Regions from separate parts of the Homo sapiens genome. Here regions 1, 2 and 4 are each linked to region 3. Evidence: promoter capture Hi-C in 16 types of primary human blood cells and fetal thymus (Javierre and others, 2016). All regions are on one chromosome and are shown on one strand. The core of a region is centred on a gene start or on the middle of the fragment in contact, and the rest is flanking DNA. Distances in the headings are between cores, read along the strand shown.

Region 1 (2,700 bases), core at 37-2,536, 340 kb before region 3:
CTATACTGCAAGGCTAAAGTAACAAAAACAGCATGGTACTGGTACCAAAACAGATATCTAGACCAATGGAACAGAGAGGCCTCAGAAATAACACCACATGTCTACAACCATCTGATCTTTGACAAATCTGACAAAAACAAGTAATGGGGAAAGGATTCCCTGTTTAATAAAAGGTGTTGGGAAAACTAGCCATATGCGGACAACTGAAACTGGACCCCTTCCTTACACTTTATACAAAAATTAATTCAAGATGGATTAAAGACTTAAATGTTAGACCTAAAACCATAAAAACCCTAGAAGAAAACCTAGGCAATACCATTCGGGACATAGGCATGGGCAAAGACTTCATGACTAAAACACAAAAAGCAATGGCAACAAAAGCCAAAATTGACAAATGGGATCTAATTAAACTAAAGAGTTACTGCACAGCAAAAGAAACTATCATCAGAGTGAACATGCAACCTACAGAATAGGAGAAAATTTTTGCAATCTATCCATCTGACAAAGGGCTAATATACAGAATCTACAAAGAACTTAAACAAATTTACAAGAAAAAAAACAACCCCATCAAAAAGTGGATGAAGGATATGAACAGACACTTCTCAAAAGAAGACATTTATGCAGCCAACAAACGTAGGAAAAAAAGCTCATCATCACTGGTCATTAGAGAAATGCAAATCAAAACCACAATGAGATACCATCTCACCCCAGTTAGAATGGTGATCATTAAAAAGCCAGGCAACAACAGATGCTGAAGAGGATGTGGAGAAATAGGGACAATTTTACACTGTTGGTGGGAGTGTAAATTAGTTCAATGATTGTGGAATACAATGTGATGAGTCCTCAAAGATCTAGAACCAGAAATACCATTTGACCCAGCAATCCCATTACTGAGTATATACTCAAAGGATTATAAATTATTCTACTGTATAGACACGTGCACATGTATGTTTATTGCAGCACTATTCACAATAGCAAAGACTTGAAACCAACCCAAATGCCCATCAGTGATAGGCTGGATTAAGAAAATGTGGCACATATGCACCATGGAATACCATGCAGCCATGAAAACGATGTCCTTTGCAGGGACATGGATGATGCTGGAAACCATCATTCTCAGCAAACTAAGAACAGAAAACCAAACACCGCATGTTCTTACTCATAAGTGGGAGTTGAACAATGAGAACACATGGACATAGGGAGGTATCACACACTGGGGCCTGTCATGGGTGGGGGACTGGGGGAGGGATAGCATTAGGAGAAATACCTAAGGTAGGTGACGGGTTGATGGGTGCAGCAAACCACCATGGCATGTATATACCTATGTAACAAAACTGCACGTTCTGCACTGTACCCTAGAACTTAAAGTATAATAAAAAAATTTTTTTAACTGGTTGGTATTCTCTACTGAAGTTGAAGATATGTATATGCCATAACCAAGCAATTCTACTTGTTGTATATGCCTGACAGAAATGTGTGTATATGTGCACCAAAAGACATGTGCAAAACTATTTATAGCAACACTGTTTAAAATACCCCAAAGCTGAAAACAACCCACATGTTTGTTCATCAGCATAAAGGATAAATAAACTGTGATCTAGTCATACAATGCATTATACAACAAAGAAAATGAACTACGAGGCCAGGCGCAGTGGCTCACACCTGTAATTCCAGCACTTTGGGAGGCTGAGGCAGGCAGATCACACAGTCAGGAGCTCGAGATCAGCCTGGCCAACATGGTAAAACCTGTCTCTACTGAAAAAATGCAAATATTAGCTGGGCGTGGTGGCAGACGCCTGTAATCCCAGCTCTCAGGAGACTGAGGCAGGAGAATCATTTGAACCTGGGAGGCAGAGCTTGCAGTGAGCCGAGATCGTGCCATTGCAATCTATACTACAATGCTATAAACTATACTACAAGGCTAAAGTAACAAAAACAGCATGGTACTGGTACCAAAACAGATATATAGACCAATGGAACAGAGAGGAACTACAGCCTGGGTGACAAGGCGAGACTCTCAAAAAAAAAGAAAGAAAAGAAAATGAACCACAATAGCTCCATATAGTAACATGGATAAATCTTACAAACGTAATATTGAGTGAAGGAAGGCAGGCACAAAACATACATATTGTATCATTTCAATTGCCTGTCTAAGAAACATAACTGATGTATGGTGTTAAACTGCTTTTGGGGAGTGAGTGAAGGTATAGTGATTAGAAGAGGGCATAAGGAAAGAATACTGGGGTGTTGGTAATGCTCTGTAACTTGACCTGAATAGTGGTTACTGGAGTGTGTATGCCTTGTGCCAGATTCATTGAGCTGTACATATACATTCTGAGCATTTTTTAGTATTTGTATAACTGTTATATTTTAGCTTAAAAAAGTTATTAAAAAAAGATTAGCCACGTGTTTTGTAGTCATTTGACTCACTGAGGGCTAGTCTCTCTTTGAGTATGCTATTGATAAATAAATGTCCCCCAAAGATGTTCACATTCCTACTCCCCAGAACCTGTACATGGTACCTTAGATGGCAAAAAGGACTTTGTAGATGTGATTAAATTACCAATCTTGAGACAAGAAAATTATCCCGGATTATCCAGGTGGGTTCAATATAATCACAAGGGTCCTTATAAGAGGGAGGTAGCAGGGTCAGAGTTGGAACGATGCACCGAAACCCTTGAATGGCCATTGTTGGCTTTG
Region 2 (2,700 bases), core at 177-2,676, 280 kb before region 3:
TATGTGGAGCTGTATTAGTTTATTTTCATTGTTGTATAATGCATTATATGACCAAATGACAATTATTTATCCTTTCTGCCAACAAACATGTGTGCTGTTCCCACCTTGGGAATGTTTTAAATAGTTTTGCTATAAGCATTGTTGCATACCTTCTGGTGCACATATATACACATTTCCATTAGGCATGTGTGTATATACTAGGAGTAGGATTTCTGGGTTGTAGCATATACATTTTCAACTTCTGTAAAGAGTACCAACCAGCTTTCAAAGTGTATGTTGCAATTTATGCCTTTATCAGAAATGTATGAGAATTCCAGTTGCTTCTCATACTCACCAAGACTTAATTTTATCAGAAAGTCTTTTTAACTTTAGCCATTCTGGAGTATATAGTACTATTTCAATATGGTTTTAATATGTATTTCCTTAATTAATAATGAAGTTTTACATTTTTGTCCTTTATTGGCTATTTGAATATTCACTTTCATAAAATGCCTACTCAAGTTTTTCACCCATTTTTATCTTGTGTTGATTTTCTAGGAGTCCTTTACATATTCTGTCCACAACCCCTTTGTCAGTTATAAGAGTAGCATACATGACTTGGGCCACAAAATATGCGTATAAATTTGAAATGTAAATTTCAACTGATTTCTTACAGGTTTAGTTACCATTTCAGTTTTATAGTATAGAACTAAGCGAAACAAAGTATTTTACAAATCTGTGATAAATAATTCTTAAATAGAAAGAGTACTTTTTTATTAAAATACATCTTCTAAAGACAAGAACAGGGCAAGTTTTTTTTTAATTAGTTCCCTTATCCTTAAATGAATAAAATACCCAATGTTAAAATGTGACTGGGTTTAGTAGAGATTAAGAGCAAAAAGTAAAGGTACTGGGCTGCTTAGAAGTGCAGGGGCTTAAAACGTGTATTAATTATTGTTACAGAAGGATTTTTACAATAGAATTAACCAAATATTCAAATAAAGCTAATCTAAATTTCTTAAATCGATGATAGGAATGAATAAATTACAAGAAAATTGGTTGAAGAGTAACAAGTAAGTCATGAGCGAGGGTAAAAATAAATACATATTTATAGGACCCCAACCTCTATCAAAAGCTAATGGAAGAACTTTCTGGTATGTGAATTTAGCTCAATAAAGCTTTTTTTTTAAAAAAAAAAAAAGCTAATAAAAATGTTTCTCCCATGAGTTTGAATAAATGTACATGGTTAACTTACTTCCAATATATATTGTTTTTTCTCTTACATGTAACATTAAAGTGGTAGAAGCAGACCAGGTGCAGTGGCTCACACCTGTAATCCCAGCACTTTGGGAGGCTGAGGCAAGCAGATCACCTGAGGTCAGTCAGGAGTTCGAGACCAGCCTGACCAACATGGCAAAACCCCGTCTCTACTAAAAATCCAAAAACTAGCCAGGTGTGGTGACGGGTGCCTGTGATCCCAGCTACTTGGGAGACTGAGGCAAGAGAATTGCTTGAACCCGGGAGGCGGAGGTTGCAGTGAGCGGAGATGGCACCATTGCACTCCAGCCTGGGCAACAGAGCCAGATTCTGTCTCTAAGTAAATAAATAAATAAAAATAAAGTGGTAGAAGCAAACATAAAATTTCTTCTTCTAATTACTGAAATTTTATGAAATATGCACCTGGACCTAAGTGAACAAAAATACTCATTAAGCTTTTTCTCATTTGTGAAATTTATGCAAATGCAAAGGATACATGTTATAGAATGTATGTTACATTTCCCAGCATGATTTTTATAAATCTTGAATATTCTAATTATGGGTAAGTGATGTTGCCAAAAATTTGTCATATGAATTAAATTAGTATCACCTTCACTACTTCTTAACAGTAATCTCTATGATTTTCTTAACAGAACTTTCCTTTAGGAATGATGTTTTTGTTTGTTGGTTTGGTTTAGCAATTGTCAGCAGTCAAAAGAGATGAAATCATTCAACAAAAATTATTATTCTTGCTGTCCTTACTACAACATATCTGGTTTTAGTATAGTCTATCATGAGCCAAAAATACCATTTCTTTTTTTTTCTTTTTTACATAAGAAGATTTAGAAGAGACAAAAATACCATTTCTAATGCCACATTTTTTTTCTTAACAGAAACGTATAAGCAAGGAAAAGGAGGCTTCATATACACCAATATTTTGATTTGTTCCTCTGTTTTACCCCTTGGATTTTTTATTCAGGACAATGTGCCATAAGATTGAAAATGGGCAAGAAGAATAGCTTTCTTTTTTAAAATGAGTGAAGGGTCAATGTGTAAGCGGAGGTGGGAAAGAAGAATAACAATGCTATTTCTACAATAGACATATTCTTGGGCAGATCAATTTTGGAAAAGAAACATATGGATGTTGAGGACCTGAAAGAAATTACTGTAAAACTATCTATACATGTGTATCTCCTAGAAAGTCCCATCAACCCCCACAGTGTGCATACCTAAGTTTGAAGAGAGCGTTCCTAGAATATAAGCCCTATGAATGTAGGGGCTTGGTATGGTTTTGAGACGGAGGCTGGAGTGCAGTGGTGCGATCTCAGCTCACTGCAACCTCTGCCCCCTGGGTTCAAGTGATTCTCCTGCCTCAGCCTCCTGACTAGCTGGGATTACAGATGTGCACCATCATGCCCAGCTTTCTGTATTTTTAGTAGAGACGGGGTTTCAGCATGTTGGCCA
Region 3 (2,700 bases), core at 38-2,537:
GAAACTCCTTAAAAGACTAATAAAGGGGGATGAAACAATAAATTGAGGCTGGACACTGTGTCTGACGCCTGTAATCTCAGCACTTTGGGAGGCCGAGGTGGGAGGATCGCTTGAACACAGGAGTTCCAGACCAGCCTGGGGAACACAGTGAGACCCCCTCTCTACTAAAATACAAAAAGCCAGGCGCGGTGGCACATGTCTGTGGCCCAGGTACTCCGGGGGCTGAGGCGGGAGGAATCTGAGCCCTGGAGGCTGAGGCTTCAGAGAGCCATGATCTTGCCCCTGGGTGACAGAGTGAGACCCTGCCTTGAAAGAAAGAACGAACTCAGATTTGGATATCTTTAGTTTTAGGCACCTGAGAGGGATTAGCATGTAGAGGCTTTCTGGATGGTAATATAACCTCTCATTATCCTTGATGGCCTCTGGGTCACTGATCTGACCATTGGGATGTATCCCACTATCCAGGGAGGGTCTGTAGTAAGTATTGCACCCCACCATCTTCCTTACATCTTTACACTTTTCATTCACAATATCCCCTTCCTTGTGAATTTCTACCGGGGAGCAATGTATTCTTGACATTTTCCAGGCCTTGATGTCAGCTTTATGCTCAGCAGCAGAGGTATTTCAGTGTCAAGAAACATCGGAGTTCCAGTCTAAATTCATCACTAACTGTGACTGCGGGCAAGTCGCTTTACCTCTCTTAATCTTAGCCTCAGCCTCTGAAAAATGAGGATAATAATTCTGGTGATTTTACAGAGCTGATGTGAAGATTAATGCGCGTTAACGGTTTAATAGAGAGCCCGGCACGGTGTAAGTGGTCAATAAATACGAGCTATTATTATGAGCAACGCTGTGTCCTCAGAGCCTCCCCACCAGGACGTCAGGGAGCGGTGCAGCAGGAGCGGCGCAGAGTGCCTCCCGGGAATCCTTCCCCGCGCGGCCGCGGCGCCGCACAGCCGCCGCCATTCGGGCTCCAGCCCCGTCCGCGCGTCTCCCGGCGTGGGTGCGGGACCAGGGCGCTGCGGGGCGCGCAGGGTGAGTCTGTGGAATAGTAGTGGAGGACGGCGCCGCGCTAGGCGGGGGTCCCAGGGAGTCGGCTGCAGGGGTGTCTGCTGGGAGGGCTGGACCGCGGGGCTCACCGAGGTCCGAGGGCCGCCCGCAGGGTGAGGCCCCCAAGAAGCTGCGGCAAGTGCCGCGCCCGCCGAGCTCGCTCCCGCGCCCGCCCCAAGATGGCGCCCCTCCCCCTCCCCTTGCGCGCGCCTCCGCCGCTCGGGGCGCGGCCCCGCGGCCCGCGCGCTCCTGGGCGGGGGATGTTGTGATGGAGAAGCCGCGGCGGAGCCCGAACCCCGCAGCCTGAGCCACCTCCGTCATCTGGGCCCGGGGCCTCACCGCGCAGGTAGGAGGTGTCCCTGCCCCGGCCCAGCCCCGGTGGCTGCGTCCCGATCACCAGCGGCCGGCGGACCCTGTAGCCCCTACCCTGCGGCAGCCCGGGTCCCCCGGCCGGCCCCATCCCCCATCCCCGGGTCGCCCTTCCACCGCGCGCCCGCAGACCGTCCTCTCATACCCACCATCGCAGGGTCCACTCGGGCCCTCACACCGTCCCTTCCGCTGCCCTTTACCTCCTGCCCCTCGGGGTGACTAGGGGCGGGTATGGAGGACGCGAAGCGAGGGGCAGTGGGTGTTGGGGGAGGGGAGGCCCAGGTCCGGGAAGGGGACGTGGGGTGGGGTGGGCTGGCAGGCCGCGCCGATTCCAGCAGGGGTCCCAGGCCCTGGATCTGTCAAGCCGCATTCTGTTGCCCTCAGCGACCGAGGGGTGTGCCCTGGGGCGGCTGTGTCCCCAGCTCAGCCAGGAGGCCTAGCACTGCCAAGAACACTGATTAGAAGCAGTTTTCCCACTGCCAATTCCTAACCTGTTTTGTATCGGCCTGTGTATCTCTTGCATTCTGAGCCCCTCTAGCTATAGTCCCAGCTCTCTCCGCCCTTCAGAGTCAACGCTTGCTGTCTTCATTTCCTTACTTCCCATTCATTCTTAAAAGCACTCCACTCTGTGTCCCTGACACCCACTGAAACTGTCTAGGCCAAGGTCACCGGAGACCTCCTTGTGGAGAACTCCAGTGGACACTGTTATCTCCTTTACCTTTGAGTAGTATTCGGTGGGGTATGTCAACTCACTCTCCTTGAAGCATTTTCCTGCTTTCTGCCCTACAGCATTGTCTGCTCTTCTCAATCTCATTTGCTTCCTCTCCTCCTCTCTTTAGATGCTGGTGAGGCTCTTGGCTCTGTCCCGAGCTGTCTTCTCTCAGTATCTGTTCTTTCTCCCCAGATATTTTATCTACTCCCAAAGCTTCAAATTTCATATATATGCTAATGATTCCCAAATTTATATATCCAGCCCAGACTTCTTTCCTGAAATCCAGACTCATATGTCCAGCTGCTCTCTTGACATCTCCTTGAAAGACAAACAGGAGTTCCAAACCTATAGATTCCAAGCTAAATTATCTTCTGTGGTTTTCTCTGTACCCCACTTCCAAATCTGTTCTTCCTTCGAATCTCAAAAATGGCTCTTTGCCAATCTGGAGTCATGAGCAAGACTTGAGATTAACCCCTCTCTCACTCTCTGCATCTCATTTCACCAAGTTCTGTCACATCCACTGCCTAAATATTTCTCAAATCCATTCATTTCGCTCTTTCCTCACTGCC
Region 4 (2,700 bases), core at 70-2,569, 310 kb before region 3:
AAGATGACAACTTAGACTACATATAAAAGAATATAAACAAACCAAAAAAAAACAACAAATTCTACATTTTAACTCCATGTCCCCATATTTTGACTTTTGGTTGTCTCAATTTACATATTTTAATATCATCTATCTTTTAATAGGTTGCTATACCTATATTTTTCCTCTGGTCTTTGATTCAGGATCTATTATTTTTGATAGATTTGTCTTTTGGGCTTCATACTAGCATGTTAAGTGAATTGCACACTACAATTATAGTAATGGAGTATTCTTGGTTTGTCCGTTTACTTAATTTTTCCAGTGAATTTTATATCTTGAAAAGTTTATCTTTCCACATTAGTGTTTTTTCTTTCAGATTGAAGAACTCCCTTAAGTATTACTTGCAAGATAGGTCTGGTGGTGGTGAATTCGCCCAGATTTTGTTTGTCTAGGAAAGACTTTATCTCTCCTTCATATTTAAAGGGTATTTTTGCTGGATTTAGAATTCCTGGGTGGGAGTTTTCTGTCTTTGGGCATTTTGAAAATGTCACTCCATTCCCTCCTGACCTATATGGCATCCAACAAGAACTCTGTTGCCAGATGAATTGGACTTTCTTCATATGTTATTTGCTTTTGCTTTTTTTTCTGCTTTTACAATCCTTTCTTTGTCTTTGACCTTTTCAAAGTCGTATGCCTTGGAGTAGTCTCATATGGATTGAATGTTTGATGTTCTCAGACCTTTCTGTACCAGGATATGTATATCTTTCTCAAGTTTCAGAAAGTTTTCCTTTATATTTATATATATATTTATATTTATATATATCTTTATATATTTATTTATTTATTTTGAGGCAGGGTCTCACTCTGTCACCCAGACTACAGTACAGTGGCATGATCATGTTCACTGCAACCTCCATCTCCCAGGCTCAAGAGATCCTCCCACCTCAGCTTCCCAAGTAGCTGAGACCACAGGCACATACCACCACGCTCAGCTAATTTTTGAATTTTTCTGTAGAAACAGGGCCTGGCCATGCTGCTCAGGCTGGCTTAAAACTCCTGAGCTCAAGCAATCTACCCACCTCAGCCTCCCAAATTGCTGGGATTACCAGGTGTGGGCCACCATGCCCATCCTGTTTTTGTTTTTTGGGTTTTTTTTTAAATAAGCCTTCTACCACTTACTCTCTTACTCTTGCTCAGCTCCCTCTTGAACAGCAACAATTTTTACCTTTGGTCCCTTGAGGTAATTTTCTATATCTTGCAGGCAGTCTTTGTTCCTTTTCATTATTTTTTCTCATCAGACTATCTACTTTCAAATAGCCAGTCTTTGAGCTCACTGATTCCTTCATCTGCTTAGTTCATTCTGGTGTTGAGAGCCTCTAAAGGGTTCTTTGTTTCAGCAAACGTATGTCTCAGTTCCAATATTTTTGTTTAATTTTTTTTAATTATTGTTTCAATCTCTTTGTTACACTTTCTGACATGCTTCTGAACTGCTTTACCTTTGAGATAATTGAGTTTCTCTTGGGCAGAGAATTCACAGATCACTATCTCATTAGAGTCAGTCACTGGATTTTTGCTTAGTCTTTCTGTGGAGGTAATGGCTCCCTGATTGTTGTTGTTTCTTGTGGGCATGTGCCAATGCCTTTGCATTGAAGGAGAAGTTATTTATTCCAGTTTTCTTTCTTTGGCTTGTTCTGGTTTTTATTTAGTATATTTATTTAGTGAATATTTACCACTAGATTGCTGCCTCCTTTTTCAGTCTAGGTGGTGCCTTAAGCCTAAGTTCACCTCGGCTCTGGTAAATGATTATAGCGTTGCCTGTCCTGAATGGGGGAGGTCTCAAAAGGATTATCTCAGCAATGTGGGAAGGCTGGCTAATGGTTCATGCCCAGGGCACCTATGGAACATACCTCCTACAATGTGCTGCTGCTAAACAGCCACTCTGATTTGGCATCTCCTTTGGCCAAGTTACAGAGCAGAATTCCCTAGGATGTGGATGATATTCTCACTTCCTCCCTTTGTCTTTGCTTGTCCTCAGGGATATTTATCCCTTTAGGTAGTCATGATGCTTCCTGTGGGTTAAGGCAAAGACAGGTCAACTTACAGGGGACTCAAGAAAGTGGGAAAGCTGACTGACCACCTCAATTTCACCTGTTCCAGTGTAGAAACTTTGAGTTGGGTGTCAGGGGAGATTTTCTATGTTCTTAGTACCAAAGAGAATAATGTGTAGGGTCATTACAGATGTGGAAATTTGATTCTCTTACCATCTGCTCAGAGTTTTCCCACTTCTGTGTGGTCCTGGGAACTGCCTCATCCTCATACTTGAGCTCTGGGTTATTGATGGTAAAAATTTCAGTGCTATATATTTGTTTTTGGTTTTCTGAGTGGGGACAGTAAAGCCAGCTTGCCCCTATGCCATAATCTTGCAACTGTAAGTCTTTAATTTTTGTTGTAAATGTCCCTTTTCCACGATCATTCTTTAAGAATATCTCACTATACATAAAATTTGTGTCTGATATTTTCTTTCAGTGAAATAAATACTCCATTCTACTCTCTTTTGGCTTCCACTATAGCTGTTCAGAAATCAGCTCTCTGTTAGGTTTTTAAAGGTAAACTCTTTTTCTACTTGTATTTGTACTTTCTACATGTATTTGTTGTTTTGTTGTTGTTCTTGTTGTTTCTGCAGTTTTATTCTGATGCATCTGATTGTAAAGTTATTTTATT

Evidence for each region. Contacts are between HindIII fragments. The CHiCAGO score rates a contact against its expected background, and 5 or more counts as called.
Region 1: a fragment that was not itself captured here is called in contact with the fragment with the promoter of APBB1 in region 3 in 4 of 17 cell types (non-activated CD4 T cells, activated CD4 T cells, total CD8 T cells and 1 more); the score reaches 8.1 in non-activated CD4 T cells.
Region 2: a fragment that was not itself captured here is called in contact with the fragment with the promoter of APBB1 in region 3 in 1 of 17 cell types (fetal thymus); the score reaches 5.1 in fetal thymus.
Region 4: a fragment that was not itself captured here is called in contact with the fragment with the promoter of APBB1 in region 3 in 5 of 17 cell types (activated CD4 T cells, naive CD8 T cells, naive CD4 T cells and 2 more); the score reaches 7.2 in activated CD4 T cells.

The regions. Positions count from the first base shown.
Region 1 is chr11:6,758,669-6,761,368 of GRCh38, reverse strand. No RefSeq gene overlaps it. Among named protein-coding and RNA genes, the nearest start is that of OR2AG2, 12 kb to the left of the region's middle. The HindIII fragment of the contact is 3,754 bases long and covers 1-2,700 here.
Region 2 is chr11:6,699,230-6,701,929 of GRCh38, reverse strand. The region is part of intron 3 of LOC124902625 (a long non-coding RNA gene); the gene reads right to left. Among named protein-coding and RNA genes, the nearest start is that of MRPL17, 17 kb to the right of the region's middle. The HindIII fragment of the contact is 534 bases long and covers 1,160-1,693 here.
Region 3 is chr11:6,417,681-6,420,380 of GRCh38, reverse strand. It overlaps APBB1 (amyloid beta precursor protein binding family B member 1), which reads left to right and starts at 1,287. Exons shown (of 15, transcript NM_001164.5): 1 at 1,287-1,396. RefSeq lists silencers at 920-1,319, 1,330-1,519. The HindIII fragment of the contact is 2,464 bases long and covers 1-2,346 here.
Region 4 is chr11:6,723,485-6,726,184 of GRCh38, reverse strand. No RefSeq gene overlaps it. Among named protein-coding and RNA genes, the nearest start is that of MRPL17, 41 kb to the right of the region's middle. The HindIII fragment of the contact is 3,986 bases long and covers 1-2,700 here.